Regions from separate parts of the Homo sapiens genome. Here regions 1 and 3 are each linked to region 2. Evidence: promoter capture Hi-C in 16 types of primary human blood cells and fetal thymus (Javierre and others, 2016). All regions are on one chromosome and are shown on one strand. Each heading gives the region's core, a stretch centred on a gene start or on the middle of the fragment in contact. The rest is flanking DNA. Distances are from core to core; before and after follow the strand shown. Region 1 overlaps LOC105378258 (a long non-coding RNA gene). Region 2 holds the start of POP5 (POP5 ribonuclease P/MRP subunit). Region 3 holds the start of HNF1A-AS1 (HNF1A antisense RNA 1).

What was found. Contacts are between HindIII fragments. The CHiCAGO score rates a contact against its expected background, and 5 or more counts as called.
Region 1: a fragment that was not itself captured here is called in contact with the fragment with the promoter of POP5 in region 2 in 4 of 17 cell types (total B cells, naive CD4 T cells, naive B cells and 1 more); the score reaches 9.4 in total B cells.
Region 3: the fragment with the promoter of HNF1A-AS1 here is called in contact with the fragment with the promoter of POP5 in region 2 in 6 of 17 cell types (M0 macrophages, total B cells, naive B cells and 3 more); the score reaches 10.8 in M0 macrophages.

Annotation. Positions count from the first base shown.
Region 1 is chr12:121,062,446-121,066,435 of GRCh38, forward strand. The region is part of intron 3 of LOC105378258 (a long non-coding RNA gene); the gene reads right to left. Among named protein-coding and RNA genes, the nearest start is that of OASL, 25 kb to the left of the region's middle. The HindIII fragment of the contact is 6,035 bases long and covers 1-3,990 here.
Region 2 is chr12:120,579,636-120,583,297 of GRCh38, forward strand. POP5 (POP5 ribonuclease P/MRP subunit) reads right to left here and starts at 1,767. Exons shown (of 5, transcript NM_015918.4): 1 at 1,708-1,767; 2 at 1,480-1,622; 3 at 139-288. The coding sequence starts at 1,727. The HindIII fragment of the contact is 2,825 bases long and covers 1-1,793 here.
Region 3 is chr12:120,970,139-120,974,213 of GRCh38, forward strand. HNF1A-AS1 (HNF1A antisense RNA 1) reads right to left here and starts at 2,154. Exons shown (of 1, transcript NR_024345.1): 1 at 1-2,154. RefSeq lists an enhancer at 2,747-3,274. The HindIII fragment of the contact is 11,110 bases long and covers 1-4,075 here.

The sequences.
Region 1 (3,990 bases), core at 1,075-3,574, 480 kb after region 2:
CTATGCTGCCCAGGCTGGTCTCAAACTCCTGGGCTCCAGTGATCCGCCTGCCTTGACCTCCCAAAGTGCTGGGATTAGAGTCGCGAGCCTCCACACCCAGCCTCTTTTCACAGTTTAGTTCCCATAATCCCCACAAGACTCTGTGATGCAGGTTCACACCATGTTACATTATGAAGAAATCGAGTCTCAGCAAGATGATGTGGCCTGCCCAGAGTCACACACCAAAGAAGTGGACAAGCTGTGATTCAAACCCAGGTTCTCTGATTCTAAATGCCAGAGGTTTACCCACGACATTATCTTACTGCCCAAGGCACTTATTATTTATTGAGCTCCTACTACGTGCTGGGCACTGGGCGAGGCTTGGAGAATACATAAATGAATAAGGCAGCCCCATTCTACGGGCAGTTTGTTATGTGTCTTCTCTACTGGGAATCTTCAGCGTGAGAAGCACGTGGTCCCAGGGTCTAGCACATTTCTTGGCACACAATGGGGCCTCAGTTAATGTTGGCTGAATAAATGAATGAATGACACCATGTTTCCTAGGAAGCAAAAGCACTTCAATCTTGTGACTATTTTTTAGTCCATAAAACGGATAGATGGTGGAGGACAGAGAACTTCCTGGTGACCTTCTGCTTGCTTCGTCAAGGCATCTATCAAGGGTCCCCATCTTTGAGTATGGTGGCTCAACCACAGTGGACCATCCCAAAGGTCCTCTCTGGTTCTGCATTGCAGACACTCTGTGCATGGTGGTGCGGGACCTCCTTCCTGGAGGTGCTTGCTTCTTCATTTACCCCAGTGTTTCTTAACATTTTGAAGTCTTGTGAGCACCAGAGAAAATGATGAATGCAAGGGGCCCTCCCTCTAAAAAACATGTTAATGCTAATATTTTGCATGCAATTTCAGGGGCTTCCTGGACCCCAAGTTAAGAATCTCTGCTATGGGGCCGGACACGATGGCTCATGTCTGTAATCCCAGCACTTTGGGAGGTTGAGGCGGGTGGATCACTTGAGGTCAGGAGTTTGAGACCAGCCTGGCCAATATGGTGAAACCCCATCTCTACTAAAAATACAAAAGAATTAGTCAGGCGTGGTGGTGGGCGCCTGTAATCCAAGCTGCTCGGGAGGCTGAGGCAGGAGAATCGCTTGAACTGGGGAGGCAGAGGTTGCGGTGAGCCAAGATCGTGCCACTGCACTTCAGCCTGGGCGTCAGACTCTGTCTCAAAAAAATAAAAAAAGAATCTCTGGGCCGGGCGCGGTGGCTCACGCCTGTAATCCCAGCACTTTGGGAGGCCGAGGCGGGTGGATCATGAGGTCAGGAGATCGAGACCATCCTGGTTAACAAGGTGAAACCCCGTCTCTACTAAAAATACAAAAAATTAGCCGGGCGCGGTGGCGGGCGCCTGTAGTCCCAGCTACTCGGGAGGCTGAGGCAGGAGAATGGCGTGAACCCGGGAAGCGGAGCTTGCAGTGAGCCGAGATTGCGCCACTGCAGTCCGCAGTCCGGCCTGGGCGACAGAGCGAGACTCCGTCTCAAAAAAAAAAAAAAAAAAAAAGAATCTCTGCTGTGGAAGATGCTTTTTTTTATTTTTCAAAATTTTTATTAGAGATGGAGGGGCGTCTCGCTATGTTGCCCAGGCTGGAGTCAAATTCCTGGGCTCAAAGGATCTTCCTGCTTCATTCAGCCTCCTGAATAGCTGGGATTACAGTGCATGCCACCATGCTTGGCTTCTCCTGTGGAAGATTCTTGAGGACCAAAAGACATCCTAAACAAGAGTCACATCTCAAACCTTTTTATTGAATTCCTGTTTTTTGTGCATCATGCTGGGTGCTAAGGGATAGTGTAGGGAAAATCTCCAGCCTTCATATCAGTCAGAAGGGAGCCCTGGGGCAGCAGGGCATCTAGTCATCAGCCTCTCAGCTCTCAAGTCACATGTGGGACTGGGATCCGGGTGTTTCCCACCTCCCCAGTAAGCCTGCAACTTTTTCTTCCATCTGGCTCCCATTTTAGAGCCTTGCATATGTTTCTTCAAGGGAAGCCTGGATAATCCTGAATTGCCTCTAATAACCACATTCTTTTTTTTTTTAATTTTTTTTTTTTTTTTTTTTTTTGAGACAGAGTCTCGCTCTCGTTGCCCAGGCTGGAGTGCGGTGGTGGGATCTTAGCTCACTGCAACCTCTGCCTCCTGGGTTCAAATGATTCTCCTGCCCCAGACTCCTGAGCAGCTGGGATTACAGGCACAAGCCACCGCCCCTGGCTAATTTTTGTATTTTTTGTAGAGACAGGGTTTCGCCATGTTGACCAGGCTGGTCTTGAACTCCTGACCTCAGGTGATCCGCCTGCCTCGGACTCCCAAAGTACTGGGATTGCAGGTGTGAGCCACCGCGTCCGGCTGTAACCACATTCTTTAATTCTTGTTTCCAACAGGTATTCCCAGGAAGAACAAAAAGCGGTTCCACTCAGGGTTCTAAGTTCGAAGTTGCCCTCATCTCAACCATCATCAACAAAACGCCAGAATGATTTTCTTCTTCTTTTCGTTAATGGTAAAAATAAGATTTTGCCATTTGTTGGGAGCATACGTATTGAGCACGTTTGGGGAGCTTGTGACTCTGGGTCACAAAATAAGACTGGGTTTTTGGAAATGTGGGTGGATAAGGTGGAGTGAGAGGGGCGGGATAAGCTCATGGCTGGCTGCAAAAGCCTATCCAGGGTTTGTGGAGCTTCTAAAATTTTCTAGATCCCTTTAAAGAAAAATGACATAAAATAGTGAATAAAAATTTCAGCTCAAAAGTGATGTTGTTTCTGACCTATTTTCCTTGTCTCTGAACAAGTTTTTTTTTTTTTGGTTTTTTTTTTTAAATAACATTTCTTACAAGATAGATCTACTGGCTATAAATTACTGATGAATTTTGCCTCAATGCAATTCTCCATTTCCCTCATTCTTTCTGCATTTATGAAATGGAAATCTATATTCTTCCAAAATGCCCCACCATTTTTTGCTTACCTGAAAGTTCTTTATTTCTCTTTCACTTTTGAAGGATAATTTTGATAGGTACAGAATTCTAGGTGTGGGGGCTTTTTCTTTCAACACTAGGTATTTTACTCCACTCTCTTCCTTCTTATGTGGTTCCTGACAAGAAGTTCAACGTAATTCTTTTTTTTTTTTTTTCCCCTGAGACAGGGTTTCACTCTGGTGCCCAAGCTGGAGCACAGTGCCTTAATCTTGACTTACTGTAGCCTCAACCTCCCAGGCTCAAGTGAGCCTTCTGCCTCAGCCTCCCGAGTAGCTGGAACCACAGGCAAACACTGGCAAGCCTTGCTAATATTTCATATTTTTTGTAGAGATGGGGTTTCTCTATGTTGCCCAGGCTGGTCTCAAACTCCTGAGCTCAAGCAGTCCTACTGCCTTGGCCTCCAAAGTGCTGGGATTATAAGTGTGAACCACTGCACCCTGCCCAGTGTAATTCTTATACTAGTGCCTCTATGAGTAGTATGTATATTTTCCTTTGGCTTCTTTCAAAGTTTTTTTTTTTTCTTTTTCTTTTTTTTTTCGAGATGGAGTCTTGCTCTGTTGCCCAGGCTGGAGTGCAGTGGCGTGATCTTGGCTCACTGCAAGCTCTGTCTCCTGGGTTTAAGCAATTCTCCTGCTTCAGCCTCCTGAGTAGCTGGGACTACAGGCACCCATCACCTCGCCCAGCTAATTTTTGTATTTTTAGTAGAGACTGTTTCACCATGTTGGCCAGGCTGGTCTCGAACTCCTGACTTCAAGTGATCAGCCCACCTTGGCCTCCCAAAGCGCTGAGATTACAGGCCTGAGCCACTGTGCCCGGCTTCTTTCAAAGTTTTTATCTTTGATTTTACAAAATTTGAATATGATATGATGAGATATTGACTTCTTTGTATTTATCCTGTTTGGTGTTCTGAGATTCCTGGATCTATGGCTTGGTGTCTGTCAATAATTTTGGTGAGTTATCAGCCATTATTAGTTAAAAT
Region 2 (3,662 bases), core at 517-3,016:
ATCTCGACCTTACAGACTTTCAGAGGTAGGGGGAAGTGTCTTGTTAGCGGGACAGCAGCAAGACCCACCCACCAGTTTAGACTGAACTGTGAACGTGTCACCAATTGAAAATCAGTAGCCATACCACCTCACTCCTACCTCCCACATGTAATGTGTTGAAAAAGCATGGGTAACGGTGTCCTTTGTTCTCCAAGTATGTGATGAAGGGAAGAGCTGACCACACAAGCTGATAGAATTCTTTTCTGCATCGAAGTAGCACTATTCCAGTATAGGCATTGAGATATCGAACTACAACAGGAAAGAAAAATCATTTTGGAAAACTTTTGCTCTGTGTGGTGGCTCACGCCTGTAATCCCAGCACTTTGGGAGGCTGAGGCGGGCAGATCACTTTAAGTCAGGAGTTCGAGGCCAGCCTGGCCAACATGATGAAACCCCGTCTCTACTAAAAATACAAAAATTAGCTGGGTGTGGTGGTGCGCACCTGTAATTCCAGCCACTCAGGAGGCTGAGGCATGAGAATCGCCTGAACCCAGGAGGCAGAGGCAGCAATGACCCCCGATCTCGCTGCTGCACTCCAGCAGCCTGGGCAACAGCCAGACTGTCTCGAAAAAAGGAAAACTTTGGAGTAACAGAGCCTACTATGTGCCAAAAGTATGTTGTAGGCAAGTGGCACGTAGATCTATCAGCGAGTAAAAGAGAAAAGCCAAAACACCCACTGTGTTGCACACCACTCAGAACTGGTGAATGAATTTAGAATTGAAAATGCTTTCTAATTCACTAGTTAATTCAATAAATAGGAGCAGGTAGGAGGCGATCCGTTTTAATTTAGGAAAAACCCCCACAAAACCCTTGCCTGAAAAACAGGCTGTTTTACTGCATTTGGGCTCCGTAATTATTGTAGCAGTCAGCTCTCAGTCTCACCTGACTTAGGAGAGTTAAGTCTATCTGCATTTAACTCTCCAGAAGTCAATCTCAAACAAGGTTAAAGTGGGAACTAATTTAAGTGGTGTGAAAGAAGGGCCCCTCTGTCCTAGCTCATCCTGTATTTACATATATTGACAATCATGTGTTCTGTACTTTACCAACTATTTAAGGGCTTTCCCGGAGTACTTTTGACAATTTTTTTCCATATGATGTTAATGTAATCGGTCATATAATAGCTCTTACTAGGAAGTATACACAGCTTCCCTCATTTAATTCTCTACCCTATCAAATTCAATCACAACCAATTACAGAAATTACCTGTCAAGCAGGTAAAAAGAGGCTTCTAGCTCAAAGCCCCACTGCCTTCGGGCCCCTCCTTTTAGCGCTCTGCTAATTTCGGACTCTCGCTTGGGGTCCCAGGCGCTTAAAGAGATACCTTACAAAAAACGGTGCACGGGCTTGGCCACTCGTGCCCCTTCTTTCTTCCTCCGGCGCCTGCCCCCTCCACATCCCGCCATCCTCCCGGGTTCCCCTCTTCCCCCAGCGCCCTTGCACCCGCGAAGCCGATGGAGCAGGCGGCTGCGCCGAAAGTTCCGTGCACCCTGGCGATCGTGTCCCGTACGAGGCTGCTCAGAACTCGGTCATCGAGGCTTAGGCGGCAGCGGGGGTCGTCAGACACCAGTTCGCAGAGCAGGTACCTGCGGCAGGCGAGAGGAAGGTGGACACTAGCGGGGCCGCGAGGACCCAGCAAGGCACTGGGAGGGTCTGGAAGGGAATGCTTACCTGTGCTTGAACCGCACCATGGCTGCCTCCGCGCTCTCCGGTCCGGCGTGCAAACCGGATGTGAATTCTGTCCGCTGCCAATGGGAAGCTTGCTTCCGCAGCCTTTCAGCCATTCAGAGAAGGAGACAGGATATTAGGGCGGAGCTAGAAAGTTGAGAGGCCGAAGTCTGTCAGCTCTCTCAAGCCCCGCCCAACTGCGTTTGTAAGCGCGCATGCGTCCTGCGGAGGGTCACTGACTAGTTTGAGGGCTGAACCCCGGGATGGAGCGCCTTGCAGCTGTAATGGATGGTTCTGTTGCACACTGAAGTTTACAATAGTGTGTAGGATGTAGCCGCTACCCTTGGGGCCCTGGGAACCTTGCACCACAGTTATGTATGCGAGTATATTCTCTCCCCAAGGTGAACGGTGGAGCTTTTGAGGGCAAGACCCTGCACCTCACAGCCCAGGCATTGACAAACGGGAAATCGGACTTTTATTTTCAGGTTTGAGCTCAGTTTAATTCTTCCATACAGCTAAATATGCTATTGCTGTTTGGGCCTTTCAGCAATCTTAGGGAGGCGAGTGTGCCGTCTCGTTTTTTGCTCGCAGAAACAATACGTGGTCATTGTATTTTCCATTTCCGTTTACCTTTTTTTTTTGACAGAAAAGCACAAAGAAGCAAATAAATTATAATCCCAGCACTGAGAGAGAATAACTGTTGTCGTGTAGTGTGTTTTCTTCTGTCATTTTCTCCCTGCGCCAGTGGTTCTCAAAGTGCCGTCTGGGGACCACTGAGATTTCCTAAATTCACTCGATTTGGGAGTCCCCGAAGTCAAAATTACTTTCATAATAATGCTAAGATGTTACTTGTCTTTTTCATTCTCTCTGAGTGAACAGTCAAGTTTTCCAGAGGCTGCTTGACGTGATGACGTCACTGCTCTAGGAATTGTGTATTGTTTTTTAAACGTTTCTCAACTTTAATGTCCATAGTAAATATAACCCACAAAACTAAAAGCTCTTGGGCACCCTCAGTAACGTGTGTAAAGGGGTCCTGAGACAGAGAAAACAGCTTGAGAACTATGCCCTCTGTTAAATTATGTTTTTTCTTTTATTTTTAAGTATTTTAAAAAAAATGTCTTATGGGGTATTACATAAAGTACATATTCTTAAGTGTATTCATCTCAATGAATTTTTACATATGGATAGACTTCTATAACCACCTCCAAGATTAAAATAAAGAGCATTTCCAGTATCCCAGAAGGTTCCCTGAGCCCTCTTCCAGTCAAATTGCTTACTGCTATCAGCCACTATTACCACTTCTACCCTGCTAGATTAATTTTGCCTGTTCTTAAACTTTATATAAATGCAGCCAGGAGGCTGGCTGCAACCTCTGCCTCCTGAGTTCAAGCGATTCTCCTGCCTCAGCCTCCCGAGTAGCTGGGATTACAGGCACCTGCCACCACGACCAGCTAATTTTTGTATTTATTTATTTAGTTTTTTGAGACGGAGTCTCACTCTGTTGCCCAAGCTGGAGCACGATCTCAGCTCACTGCAACCTCTGCCTCCTGGATTCAGGCGATTCTCCTGCCTCAGCCTCCCAAGTAGCTGGGACTACAGGTGTGTGCCACCACAACTGGCTAATTTTTGTATTTTTAGTAGGGACAGGGTTTCCCCATGTTGGCCAGGCTGGTCTTGAACTCCTGACCTCAGGTGATCCACCCACCTCGGCCTCCCAAAGTGCTGGGATTACAGGCGTGAGCTACCACGCCTGGCCATTTGGCTATATTTTCATGTCAGCTCTTCAGCGACAATACTGTTTTTTAGCTGTGCAGTATTGCATTGTTTGGACGTACCATTGTGAAGTTGGTCAGTATCCCTTTGGTAGACGTTTACATTATTTCTAGATTTTCTTGTTATACCCAATACTTTGATGCATGGCTTTGTAGCTTAGTCTTTATGCCCATCCCTGATTATTT
Region 3 (4,075 bases), core at 904-3,403, 390 kb after region 2:
TAAGTTTAGTTTTAAAAAAGTGAGTTGACAGGAGCAAAACTGCTAAGTAAATAATGCAAAAGGCAGTGGTGCTCAAATATGGGAAAATAATATGCAGGTGATACCAGAGTCTTGCCTTTGGGAAATGCAGACCCAGGTCCTTTTGTCTTTAGAGCTCACCGGCAATGCGAGGTGTTTCAGGTAGAAGGAACAGCATCAATGGGGTGTTGGCTAGTGTTTAACAGCTGGCTCTCTGAAAAAGCAAAATAAAACACACACACACCAAATCTGATGGTCTGTTTCCATGATGTGAGTACCTCCAGCTGGGCCGAACTGACATCACTGAACACAGTGGAAAGTGATGACTGCAGTTGTCTCTCCTGGGAGCTTCAACACAGTACAGGCTGACAAAAGTGGGCAGGGGGTAAGGGCAGGTGGTGGGAGTGGCCTCTACGCCAGAGAAGGGAATGGAGAGGTCAGGCTGGCTAGAGAGTGGGGTTGAGTCGTCCATGCCCTTGAATGCCAGGATGAGGGCTAAAGAGTCAAATGGAATGGGTGACTTCATATGCAGAAGTTTTTACAAGAGAAGAGAACTCAGTTTGGCCAAGAGAAGTGGGGTCGTCATGTTGGTAATCACGTAACAGTGATCGTTCAGTCATGCGGAATGCTTTCAAGGTGTTGGACACTGTTCATTTTTTATTTTTAGTTTTTGAGGCAGGGTCTCACTCTGTCGCCCAGGCTGGAGTGCAGTGGTGCAATCTTGGCTCACTGCAACCTCTGTCTCCTGGGTTCAAGCGATTCTTCTGCCTCAGCCTCCCTAGTAGCTCGGATTACAGTTGTTTGCCACCACGCCCGGCTAATTTTTGTATTTTTAGTAGAAATGAGGTTTCGCCATGTTGGCCAGACTGGTCTCGAACTCCTGACCTCAAATGATCCACCTGCCTCGGCCTCCCAAAGTGCTGGGATTGCAGGTGTGATCCACCACACCTGGCCGCTTGCAGGGTGTTGGACACTGTGGATATCACCTCATTCATTCTCCTAACAACCCAAGAGAAGAGGAACTGAGGCAAAGAGAAGTTAAGCAAGTTGCCCAAGGCCATACGGCTAGTAAACGGCAGAACGAGGCTCAAACCCAGGCACTCTGGCTCTAGAGTGTGTGTTCCTAACCACTGTGCTCTAGCACCTCGGAACCTTAGTCTCTTCATCTGCAAAATCAGCACTGAGGTGACAAGGCCAACGAGCAGAGGGTTGGAGTTACCCAGAACAACAACAACAACAAAAGTAATAGTAACACATATTTGGTCAAGGCTTAGATTCTGGCGTCATGGGGATCTGGGTTCAAATCCTAATTCTGCCTTAGCCGATTAGGGTCCCTATCCTCTTAAAGCCTTGGTTTCCTTATCTGTAAAATGGGGATATCATGAAGCTGTTAGATGTTAAATGAGAAAATGAATGAGAAAATTGCATGTACTGTCCATAAAGTTGAAAAGATAATAGGGGTGGGAAGGAGAACAGTCCGAGTTTGAATGCAGGTGGGCCCTGGGGCATTGTCTGGACTGAAGGACAAGGGTCAGTTGAATTGCCAAAGAGCTCTGAGACTGGCTGAAGGGACACTCGTCTTGTGCTAGCTGCTAAGACCAAGGGGAAGCCTGTGCCTCGCCCGAATTTTAGTCTTGCAAACAGCTGCTCACCCAGTAGGAGAGAATTGTGATAAAACTCATAGCCACCATTTCTTGAATATCTACTATGCCCCGGGACACAGCAGACTATTTTAGAGAATTTGCGAAGGAAACACAGTGACATCTGTTGGACACCTTGCAAACTACCAGCTCAGGATAGTTAAATTTGAATGTTAGATGGAGGGAACTTCCTTTCCACAATGACATGATTTTGTAAAGCTGAGTGTATGGCAGTTGTCATGATTAAAAGCAAGTGCCATGCAGAAGTTATTGTGTAACAGGAAATGAGATTAGATAGCGTCCAATCTAATCTCAAGGTTTGAGTAGCTGTGGACAGCCCAACAGGCACAGGCCTCCCGTTAGTACATCCATACGAGAAGTTAAGAATGAGTGAAAATAGTTTTTTTTTTTTTAATTTATGTGCATTATTTTTTTCAAGCAGCTACCTTGTTAGGACATACTTAATAGTTATCTTGGCCTACCTACTGCACTTACTAAACAACTGTTCACTTTTTAATTTTTAATTTTCAGATTTTTTTGAGACGGATTGTTACTCTATCGCCCAGGCTGGAGTGCAGTGGCGTGATCTCTGCTCACTGCAACCTCCGCCTCCCGGGTTCAAGCTATTCTCCTGCCTCAGCCTCCTGAGTATCTGGGACTACAGGTGTGCGCCACCACATCCAGCTAATTTTTGTATTTTTAGTAGAGATGGGGTTTTACCATGTTGGCCAGGCTGATCTGGAACTCCTGACCTCAGGTGATCCACCTGCCTCGGTCTCCCAAAGCGCTGGGATTACAGGTATGAGCTACCATGTCCGGCTGTTCCTTTTTTTTTTTTTCTTTTTCTTTTTTTTTTGAGACGGAGTTTCTCTCTGTCACCCAGGCTGGAGTGCAGTGTCATGATCTCAGCTCACTGCAACCTCTGCCTTCTGGGTTCAAGTGATTCTCCTGCCTCAGCCTTCCGACTAGCTGGGATTATAGGTGCCCACTGACAAGCCTGGCTAATTTTTGTATTTTTAGTAGAGACGGGTTTTCACCATGTTGGCCAGGCTGGTCTCGAACTCCTGACCTCAAGTGATCCACCCACTTCGGTCTCCCAAAGTGCTGGGATGACAGGCATGAGCCACTGCGCCCAGCCACTGTTCGCTTTTTTTCTCAGTGGTTCTCTAGTCCATTGCCTTAACCACTCACCATGACTACAGCTCTTATTTGCAGTGACTCTCAAGAATGCAAATGCAAATGCCATTCCTGACCTCGAGTTAATTCAGCTTTGTCCCCTGAGCATGGGGGAAAGGCAGGCTGGGGGCTGGAACTTTCTGCTTGTGTACCTATCTCTTTAGACTCTGGAGGCTCCTCCCCAATCTCTGTCATTCCCTCTCCAACCAAATCCACCTGCCGTCCCAGACTCAAATGCTCAGCCACCTAACTGCCTGAGGACCCAGCAGTTAATGAGTTTACATGCTGGGGGCAGGAGTCAGGGCCAACACTCCTTGGTTCCTCTGGCTCCCTGGAAAGGGAAAGTCACCAAGAGGCAGCTGCAGGCAGCAAAGAGAATAAGCAGGAGAACCTCAAAGCCACAAAGGGACAGCACACAGCATCTTCCCTGTTTAGCCTGGACTTGAGAATGCTGTCCCCAGCAGTAAGCTGCTCAACCTCAAAGCAACTTGCACGGGGGTTTACAAAAAAATGCACTTGGCCGGGCACGGTGGCTCACGCCTATAATCCCAACAGTTTGGGAGGCCGAGGTGGGTGGATCTTTTGAGGCCAGGAGTTTGAGACCAGCCTGGCAAACATGGTGAAACCCTGTCTCTACCAAAAATACAAAAATTAGCCAGGCATGGTGGTGTGTGCCTGTAGTCCCAGCTACTCAGGAGGCTAAGGTAGGAGGATTGCTCGAACCCAGGAGGCAGAGGTTACAGTGAGCTGAGATCGCACCACTGTACTCCAGCCTGGGTGACAAAGTGAGGCTCTGTCTCAAAAATAAAAATAAAACATAAATGCACTGGAGGAAAGAGGGTACCACTCTCCTTAAGGCGGGGGCTGCCAACTTGTCCTGCACAGCCCGTCCGCCTGCCTCAGGTGGACTTAAAGCCCAGCTCTGAGGGACTCTGAGCAGTCATTTAACCTCTCTGAGCCTCTCTTTCCTCCCCTGCAGAAGGGGGATTATAACAGTTCCTAATTCATGAGTTGTTCTTGGAGTGAAATACATTACTGGCCAGGTGAGATGGCTCATGCCTGTAATCCCAACACTTTGGGAGGCTGAGGTGAGAGGATTGCTTGAGCCCAGGAGTTCGAGACCAGCCTGGGCAACAAAGCAAGACCCCCATCTCTAAGAAAAGTAAATAAATAGGCAGGGTGCAGTGGCTCACCCCTGTAATCCCAGCACCTTGGGAGGACGAGGTGGGCAGATGGCTTGG